Linked DNA regions of Homo sapiens: all the other regions are linked to region 1. The links are contacts of gene promoters, found by promoter capture Hi-C in human tissues and cell types (Jung and others, 2019). All regions are on one chromosome and are shown on one strand. The core of a region is centred on a gene start or on the middle of the fragment in contact, and the rest is flanking DNA. Distances in the headings are between cores, read along the strand shown.

Evidence for each region. The method cuts DNA at HindIII sites, captures the fragments that hold promoters and counts their contacts. A contact is called where the count stands out against the background at its distance.
Region 2: a contact is called between a fragment that was not itself captured here and the fragment with the promoter of LCLAT1 in region 1, in 1 of the 25 tissues and cell types used here (liver).
Region 3: a contact is called between a fragment that was not itself captured here and the fragment with the promoter of LCLAT1 in region 1, in 2 of the 25 tissues and cell types used here (H1 embryonic stem cells and stomach).

The regions. Positions count from the first base shown.
Region 1 is chr2:30,445,962-30,448,576 of GRCh38, reverse strand. It overlaps LCLAT1 (lysocardiolipin acyltransferase 1), which reads right to left and starts at 1,331. Exons shown (of 6, transcript NM_001002257.3): 1 at 1,194-1,331. RefSeq lists enhancers at 167-903, 1,101-1,220, 1,431-1,490, 1,531-1,600, 904-1,641. The HindIII fragment of the contact is 9,254 bases long and covers 1-2,615 here.
Region 2 is chr2:30,609,850-30,612,464 of GRCh38, reverse strand. The region is part of intron 5 of LCLAT1 (lysocardiolipin acyltransferase 1); the gene reads right to left. Among named protein-coding and RNA genes, the nearest start is that of LCLAT1, 160 kb to the right of the region's middle. The HindIII fragment of the contact is 4,699 bases long and covers 1-2,615 here.
Region 3 is chr2:30,286,401-30,289,015 of GRCh38, reverse strand. No RefSeq gene overlaps it. Among named protein-coding and RNA genes, the nearest start is that of LBH, 56 kb to the right of the region's middle. RefSeq lists an enhancer at 854-903. The HindIII fragment of the contact is 8,232 bases long and covers 1-2,615 here.

The sequences.
Region 1 (2,615 bases), core at 82-2,581:
ACTCCAGAGATTGCAGCTATTGATGACTGAAACACAAGCGCTATTACGTTTTTCTCAGTTACAGAACAAGGTACTACTCCATAAAATCAAGCCTACTACCAAAAACAAAAGTCAGTTAACATTATGCTTATCTGTCATATCAAGCATATCAAAGTACAATGTGCAACAGAAACCTAAACGAAAAAGTGATGATGTATTTTTACTTACTCTCAAAAAATATGTTTTACAAAAAGGGCTTTCATCAAGTCAGTTTTTTGAAAACTAACCCACGTAGTTATACTTCATGAGATGACGTTTCTTTGAACAAATAAGTTAATGATATGAATAAATATTTCATCTTGGTAATGCCTTCAACACATATCTTCAATACTTTTCTTGGACTTAAAGTGACTTCAATCCCTAATCTCATCTACTGCCATGTACACAAGAAACACAGTTAATGAACTTTAAAGGCAGATGCAGTATTTCCAGGGAAGCCACCTGAACCAGGGAAGTACAAGAAAGCAAAACATCTCCACAACCACATCTAAGTGCCTTATCTTTCAACTTCTTTTCTTCAAATGGGCAATTAGAAGCTACGATACACCTTAAAGATCAGGTTTGGCATCCGCCCTGGCTAGGGCCTACCTTTCTTTTCGCGGCACTGCCACTCTGGCACCTACAGGCAGGCCTTTGGCGCCTGCAGGACTCGCAGGGAAGACAACCCCAGCCCCTGCTCTCCACGGCTCTCGTCGAAGCCCCGCACGTGGTGACCACTTGAGACGTTTTAGTGCATGGGATTTAACAGGGTCAGACCTCAGGTTGCGTTCCGGGACAGTGCAGCTCCCAGACCCGCTGAGGTCGCAGGAGGAAGGTTTTGACGCTCCTAGCGTAAACACCGACGGGACCCTCTTCGCCCCGCGGCTACCTCGCCCTCGCCGCTCGCGCGGCCCCTCAGCACCTGACGCCTCAGCCAGCCTCCAGGAGTCGCTTCCCCGCGCCTCCTTCCACCTGAGCCAGCGACGCTACCGCCACCTGCACCGGGACCCCAAATGCCAGGCCAGTGGCCGTTACCCGAGGTCGCGGCCCGGGGAAGGTCCATGGCTCAGGAGGAAAAGCCCGGGCTGCAGCTCCCCTTCCTGCACCTCTGAGATCCCCCGGCCGCCGCCATTTTCCTCGCGCCGTAACCCCACCTGATAGTTCCAGCCTCCCACCTGTGACAAGCAGGGCACGCCGCGCGACGCCGAGTGGGGTGCGTGGGCAAGCTGGGGCTCCGTAGGGGTCACAACCTCCGTGCGGAACCCGCCGTTAATTCATCCCGTAACGCGGAGGCGTCCGGCCGTCGCCCTAGTAATGCGTCCCGGAAGGCTACGTCCTGATTGGCTGCAGGCGCCGTGACGCAACGGCGTCCCCGGCTGCGTGGGAAACCCGGGTCCCCGGCGCCCCGCGCTTGCTCCACAGCCCGGGATACCCCGGGTACCTTTCTTTGAGAGCTCCTTTAAAGAGGCCTCGCTTATTTCCTCGTCTGGCCTCCTGGAGAGGAGGGACCCACGGAACGGTGGGGTGTAGGGGTGAGAAAACAACGAAATAGGAAATTAGCGGAGGTCATTTGTCCGAGGGAACCTAATGGTTCATTCAACCCCTAGAGCTGCAAAATGGAAAACAGAAATCTGGGAGTTTAATTTACAAGCCTAAATTTGGTGCGCGAAGTCACAGGACAAATCAGTAGTAGAAGCAGTTATAGAACCCAGGTTCCCTGATCAGGAGCACAAAGTTTTTCTAGCACACTCAGTGTTTCCCCAGTCCTAGAAAATGTTTCCTCCCAGTTCCCATAGCAATTTCATCACACTGCTCTTAAAAGGTCTCGATCACCTATCATGGTGTGTCTGTCCTGTCCCCTAACCTACTAGATTGCATGCCCCTGAATGGTGGGGACTGTGGTTAAACCCCTTTTCATTTCCCTTAAGCAATTCCCTCCTCAACTTGGCCTTCAACAAATACAATAAGAATCTTAAAAATAATAAACATAGCTACACATCACACACAGCCACTCATCAGTAGTTCATGTATGTCTATACGTTTTATCCGTTTATTCAACAAAGCACAGAGTGAATATTTTTAAAATTACAAGGTTCCTGACCTCACAAAATTTATGGTGTAATAATAATGACCATCTACATGTTGGCTGCATAGCTTCAATATAGCTAAATTATATCCCCAAATTGCCTGTAAATCAAAGATTCTTGTGCTCTTTTCCTAAATTAGCTTCATAATTTCTCTAAGTTTGTTCCAAAACATTTTAATATTTAAGATGTGCTAAAATTGCATCAGAAAGTGAAGAATGACTACAGAGAGAAACACCAGAACAAAAGTCAATTCTGCCAATTATGCCTATGACTTTAGGCCTCCTTTTTACCTTTAAAATAAGATTACTGGAATAAAAGATCTCCCAATTCTTTTTTGTTGTTGTTAAGAGTTGGCCTGGCTATGCTCCAGAACCTTCAAGGGCTCTACTGTGGTTCTTTGGGGGCTTGCCGGAGGTTCCTCATAGCCTTTGCAGCTCCATTGCAGAGAGCTCTAGCATTGTGAGGTGTGTCCGGTGATACAGCCCAAGAGGCAAGGTTGCCCTTACCGCC
Region 2 (2,615 bases), core at 48-2,547, 160 kb before region 1:
CAGCACTAAATGACCAACATCTGAATAGGCACAGGGCGCCACAAGGACAGGAAGCTAGAGACCTCTTCAATGATGATAGGTGCCTTTTATAGGTTTAAGGAGCTTATGTTAGTTTGATATGCTCCTCTCTCCCTCTCCCTTCAAACCGTGATATAAATACTCTTTAGTTATGGCATATTTGACGATGTTAAACATACAGTGTTGTTTTTAAACTGAAATTCTTTCCTGACATTCTGGAATGCAATCCCCTGTGCTTGCTTCATTTTCTCTCTGATAACAACAGAAACTTCATTAAACATTCCCGAATATAGCCTCTTCATTAATTAAGGTATTACTGTAGAAGTACTTGTTTCCTAATCAACTCTCAAGACTGTGTCTTTAAATAGAACCACCAACCTCCTCACAGAAAGTCTTTTCCTCACAGAAAAGAAAGCTTCATTTTCTACTGTGCTATTTTTTTTCTTTCTATCCACAGGACACATGGGAGTCCCACCAGCTTGAAAAAAATTTCACAGAGCTGGCATTTCCATCAGTGCAGACACGGCTCTGAAAACAGTAATTGCTGCCTTATGGGCATGATACGCCCATTTCTACTCTGACCTCCTCCCAGGAGAAACTCTTCTGCAAATGACCACAGTACTTCACTTGAGTTCTGCGTCATCCTCCTCCTATTAGTTCAAGTGGTCTGCTAAGCGGTTCATGAACCACTTCCCTCAGCTGACCCAGATGAAGTAAGCTCTTCTTTGCTGCTATGCCCAGAGCCCAGACCAGTTAAGAATCTCAGCCTGACTTGGCCTGTTATCCCTCAGCTTCCAGTCCTGACTCCAAGGTACCTTCTTTCTGTAAGTCTTCAGCCTACTGACTCAGGGTCCTACCATACACACCACTGTCTTCTGAGAACAGCACACATGGGGCAGAGCAGAGTCAGGGGGAGAGAGAAAGAACAGTTAACAACTCTTAGAAACCTGAAAATAAAGAGGATACGGCTGGAAATGGGACCTCAGAAAGTTCCACATGCTAGAATGCCTTTCCTTTTGCTTTCATGGCACTCTCTTTCACCCTCAACTGAAAGTGTGAGTGTATACACACACACTCTCTGTTCTCTGGGATTTCCTAAAACTGGAGCTAAATTATAATTAGGACATTATATAGTTTATTTTCAAGAATTTTTGGTTGCAGCAAATTAGAATATATGCTTTGGTTTCATAGAATTAATTCATGTAGCTTTATCATGTTCACATAGAGCAATGCAAACTTTCTCATGCATATATAATGAAGCAGGAAAGACTATAAAAGGACCAAAAAGAAAAAAAATGGACAAAAAGGCCAGAAGAAAAATGCTAATGAGTCTGTTGACTACTGATAGGAAAAAAAAAAAAAAGCTAAAAGTAGAAGAGCAGTGGTGAAGCCAGAATTTAACAAATTAAGGGAGGAATATTGGGGGAAAGATGATCAAGGAAGAAGTGAAAAAAAAACAAAATTAAACTCAGTGTTTGGTATCTATTACATAGCCAGCATTAAAAAAACTGAAGAAAAGCACAAGGATGGTAACAGGTGAGGAAATAATAACAGTTAAGTCCAAGAAATTTTTTAAAAAGTTATATTCATGTCCGTGGAGACCCTTAATTCAGAATATATATCTATGATTTACTTGTTTTTAATAACACTGAACTTCTGGTAAAACAGAAAAGACATTAAATGTGTTGGACCAACCAGCTGGAATGAAAATTGATTCCCAAACCCAAGTAACACAAGAATGTACTAACTCTAAGCTCCAACATTATAATATAAAACAGAATCCATATTGTTTTTAATGACAGCCTGTTACAGCACTTGTGATACTCTTGAATTTAGCAGAGTGACATCAGACCTAGGCTTATATAACTATTCAAACAACAAGGTCTTAAATACCTGAGAGATCTGTTAATATAAAGATGATCTTAATATTCACAATCCTCTGGTGTTAAAAACAATTTCCACCAGACCTTGATACACAAGTGGATAAATCATGTTAAATTAAATCAGTCTGTACTTATGGAGCTATCTTAATCAGAAGGAGATTTAATGAAAAGCGTTAGCTTAGATGAATAATTATTATAGGCTAATATTTGTCCACAAAAAGAATTTGTTTCAGGATTAGACAGAGACCATGAGAAGCCAGAGGCATCAATTCAATAATGGAATGCCTAATTATAATGTATTGCTTTGCCCTGCATATAATTTATTTAGCACATTGCTTTTCACAGGGTTTATTAAGGAAACCTAAAAAAAAAAATGCAATTACTAAAGAAGGAACGAAAAAATTAGTAAACTAAAACCTTTTAAGAAATAGAGGAAGTAATATGTGACAAAGTCTAGTTATTAGAAAAATGCAGGGGGTATGGCTATGTTCAATTTGTACATGTAGAAACTGCATATTTGTCCTATATCCTTCAAAAATCGGTCATTGCCTTTATGTGCTTAAAATTATGTTAAGACATGCATTCATCACATCAAAAGTATCAATAAAGAGTTTAATAATTGCTCACTAAATCATGCTTATGATAATGATTTTAAGTCCTGTGCTAGCTACAGCTACCATGGGAGATTTAAAGACATGGAAGCAATCCTTGCCT
Region 3 (2,615 bases), core at 45-2,544, 160 kb after region 1:
TTTTAGGCTACCATTTGAATTTTGTTAGACTTCATGCCTCTTCTATCCTCACCAATTACCTCTCTTACCCCCTCCCTAGTCCACCCAATTTATTGCTTCTCCTGGATTCCTCTGTTCTTTTACCCTAGACTTGTGCAAAATCAGGCTTGGACATATCCAGGCACTGCTGGAAACCAAATGTTTTGAGGTTGGTTATGTTGTAAATTTCAGCTTCAGCACTGAAGAAATAGAGCCTGGGCATGTTTTGGTATTTAGGATCATTTAAAAGCTGCCTGTTTGGAGACAGAGACCATAGTTAGCATTTTCCCAGCTTTGGAAGGCAGACTTAGGGCTCGCATTTTTTTCAGATGATTTGTAGGACATTAATTGTGCAAATAATTTAACCCTTTGCTTCAGATTTTTTTCCTTTTAAAACAGAGGAGAGTTTAATCCTGAGGAGGAGCTCTGTTGTCGTCAGTGAATGTTTTGGTTTTTTGTTTTCTAATGGCTTCAATTAAGAACTACAACACACCCTGAGTGTGACTTTGCCAATATATTTAGGCTGGCTTATTTCAGTGTGCATGCATGTGTGAAAGACACACAGAAAATAGAGGAAATGAGAGAACACTCTCAAAACTTGCTAAGTGTATAAACTGTGATATTATGTTCATAATTCCCTTTTTCTTCGGCTGTCAGGTTTGAGCCTCAAACATTTTTTATTCCAAGGGAAACAACAGCCCCTGCAAGTAACCCAAGTTCACGGCTTTCCTGGGCCCTTGGAAGCAGGGGAGGCACTCTTTTACTTGGAAGGGTTAATTGAAGACACTTAAGTTTACTCTTGGTCAAATTCACAACCAGGAGAGCTAGAGAGAGAGGAAGTGAATGAGTCTCACTTGTCAAACTTTCCTTTTTGGTTTTTTTTTTTTTTTTAAACTTAACTCTTTCTTTACCCTGGTGTGGACAAAGTGCACTTTAAACCTAAAGGTTTCATGGTTTCAACGTACACTTGATGAACGTTCTTGGATCTCCTGCTAGAAAACATGTTGGTGCATCAAAGAAAAGGGGAAATGATACCTAGCTTATGAAGGAACACTTTCTTCTGAAAATGGAGATGGAAGATGGGTCACAGATTGAGACTAAACATAGTCTCTATGGGCCTAGAGGAAATTTCTCTGGCTAGCTCAGTGAGAGCTGGGGAGGCCATTTCAACATTTTATGAATGAAATTCTTCATCAACACTGTTTCATTAGAGAGACGGACTTGACCCTGGACTAATATAATTGCAGCACTGGAGATATTAATGTAATTTTGAGGCCTCATGTCACATTATAAAAACACAGTGCTATAAAAGACTCTAATTTGCCAAGCTCTACCAGACACCAGATGGTACACTTACAGAGAGAAATTTTTTCCTTGAACAGAAGGTAGTCTGTGATGTCATAAGCAGGAGAAATCACCAATACTCAGGGTCTTGGACACTGACATTCTTTTGAGCTAGCAGAGAAAAAGGCCCACAGATACCCAAAGGGGCAGTGCTAGGTTATGTGGTCCTGACTTTTCTTCTTCCTGCCATCAGCCCCCTGGTAATGAAAGAGAGACTCACAAAAGGGGGATTAGAAACTCCTGGCAACCCTGTTAATGGCTTCCTGTGGGATCTCATTTCCTCTGAAACCCCCAGAAATGAGGAAACCTCAGCTTATTTCAGACTCACCCTTCTCCATTTTACTTTACCCACATCAAGCACCATTGATTCCAATCCTGATATTTCAGACCCCCACAGTGGCTGCAGCCTGAGCTCCTGCCTTCTTCACTACCTGGGCTGAATAAACAGTGAGCTCTGCCTTAGGTCTCTCTCTGTCCTTCCCATCTCTTCCCTCTATCTTCTTCATGCTGCCAGAGTGGTTTTCTTAAATGCAAATTCTATCATGTCTCTGTCTTGCTTAAAAATCATTGATGGCACCTCGCTGCCTGGACCAGTAATGGGAAAAATTGGCCCTAGATTAAAAGTTGCTTTGACCCAGGTAAAAAGCTTGAAGGCAAGTCTTGAAAAATCAAGTTGTTTCCAAGTAGCTTAATTGAGTCCCAGAATAAAACTCAAAAGCATTTAAAGAAGAAACCTAGCATTCAGCACTAATCTGGCATCCAATAAAAAATTATCAGGCGTCAAAGAACTAGGAAAACAATATAAAGAGGAGAAAAATCAATCAATAGAAATAGATACAGAAATGACACAGGTGAATAGACAAGAACAGTATTTTAAATGAGGTAAATATACTCCATATATTTATGGAGAAGACAGAGGAATGCATGAGCATATTAAAGAGATGGTGGTAGATATTTAAAGGAGAAGACCTAAATCAAACTTGTAGAGATTAAAACAAACAAACAAGAACCTCTAATGTCTGAGATGGAAAAACACACTAGATGGGAATAAGAATGAATTGGACACTGCAGACTGAAGAAAAACAGTAAACAGCATCAGTGAGCTGCAGAACAACTTCAAGCAAGATAATATAACATATAGCTTATATACAATAACATATAATAATTCTTTTTGCAGTCCCCACAAAAAGAATAGAGAGATAGAAGGAAGAAATAATAAGGCCGGGCGCAGTGGATCATGCCTGTAATCCCAG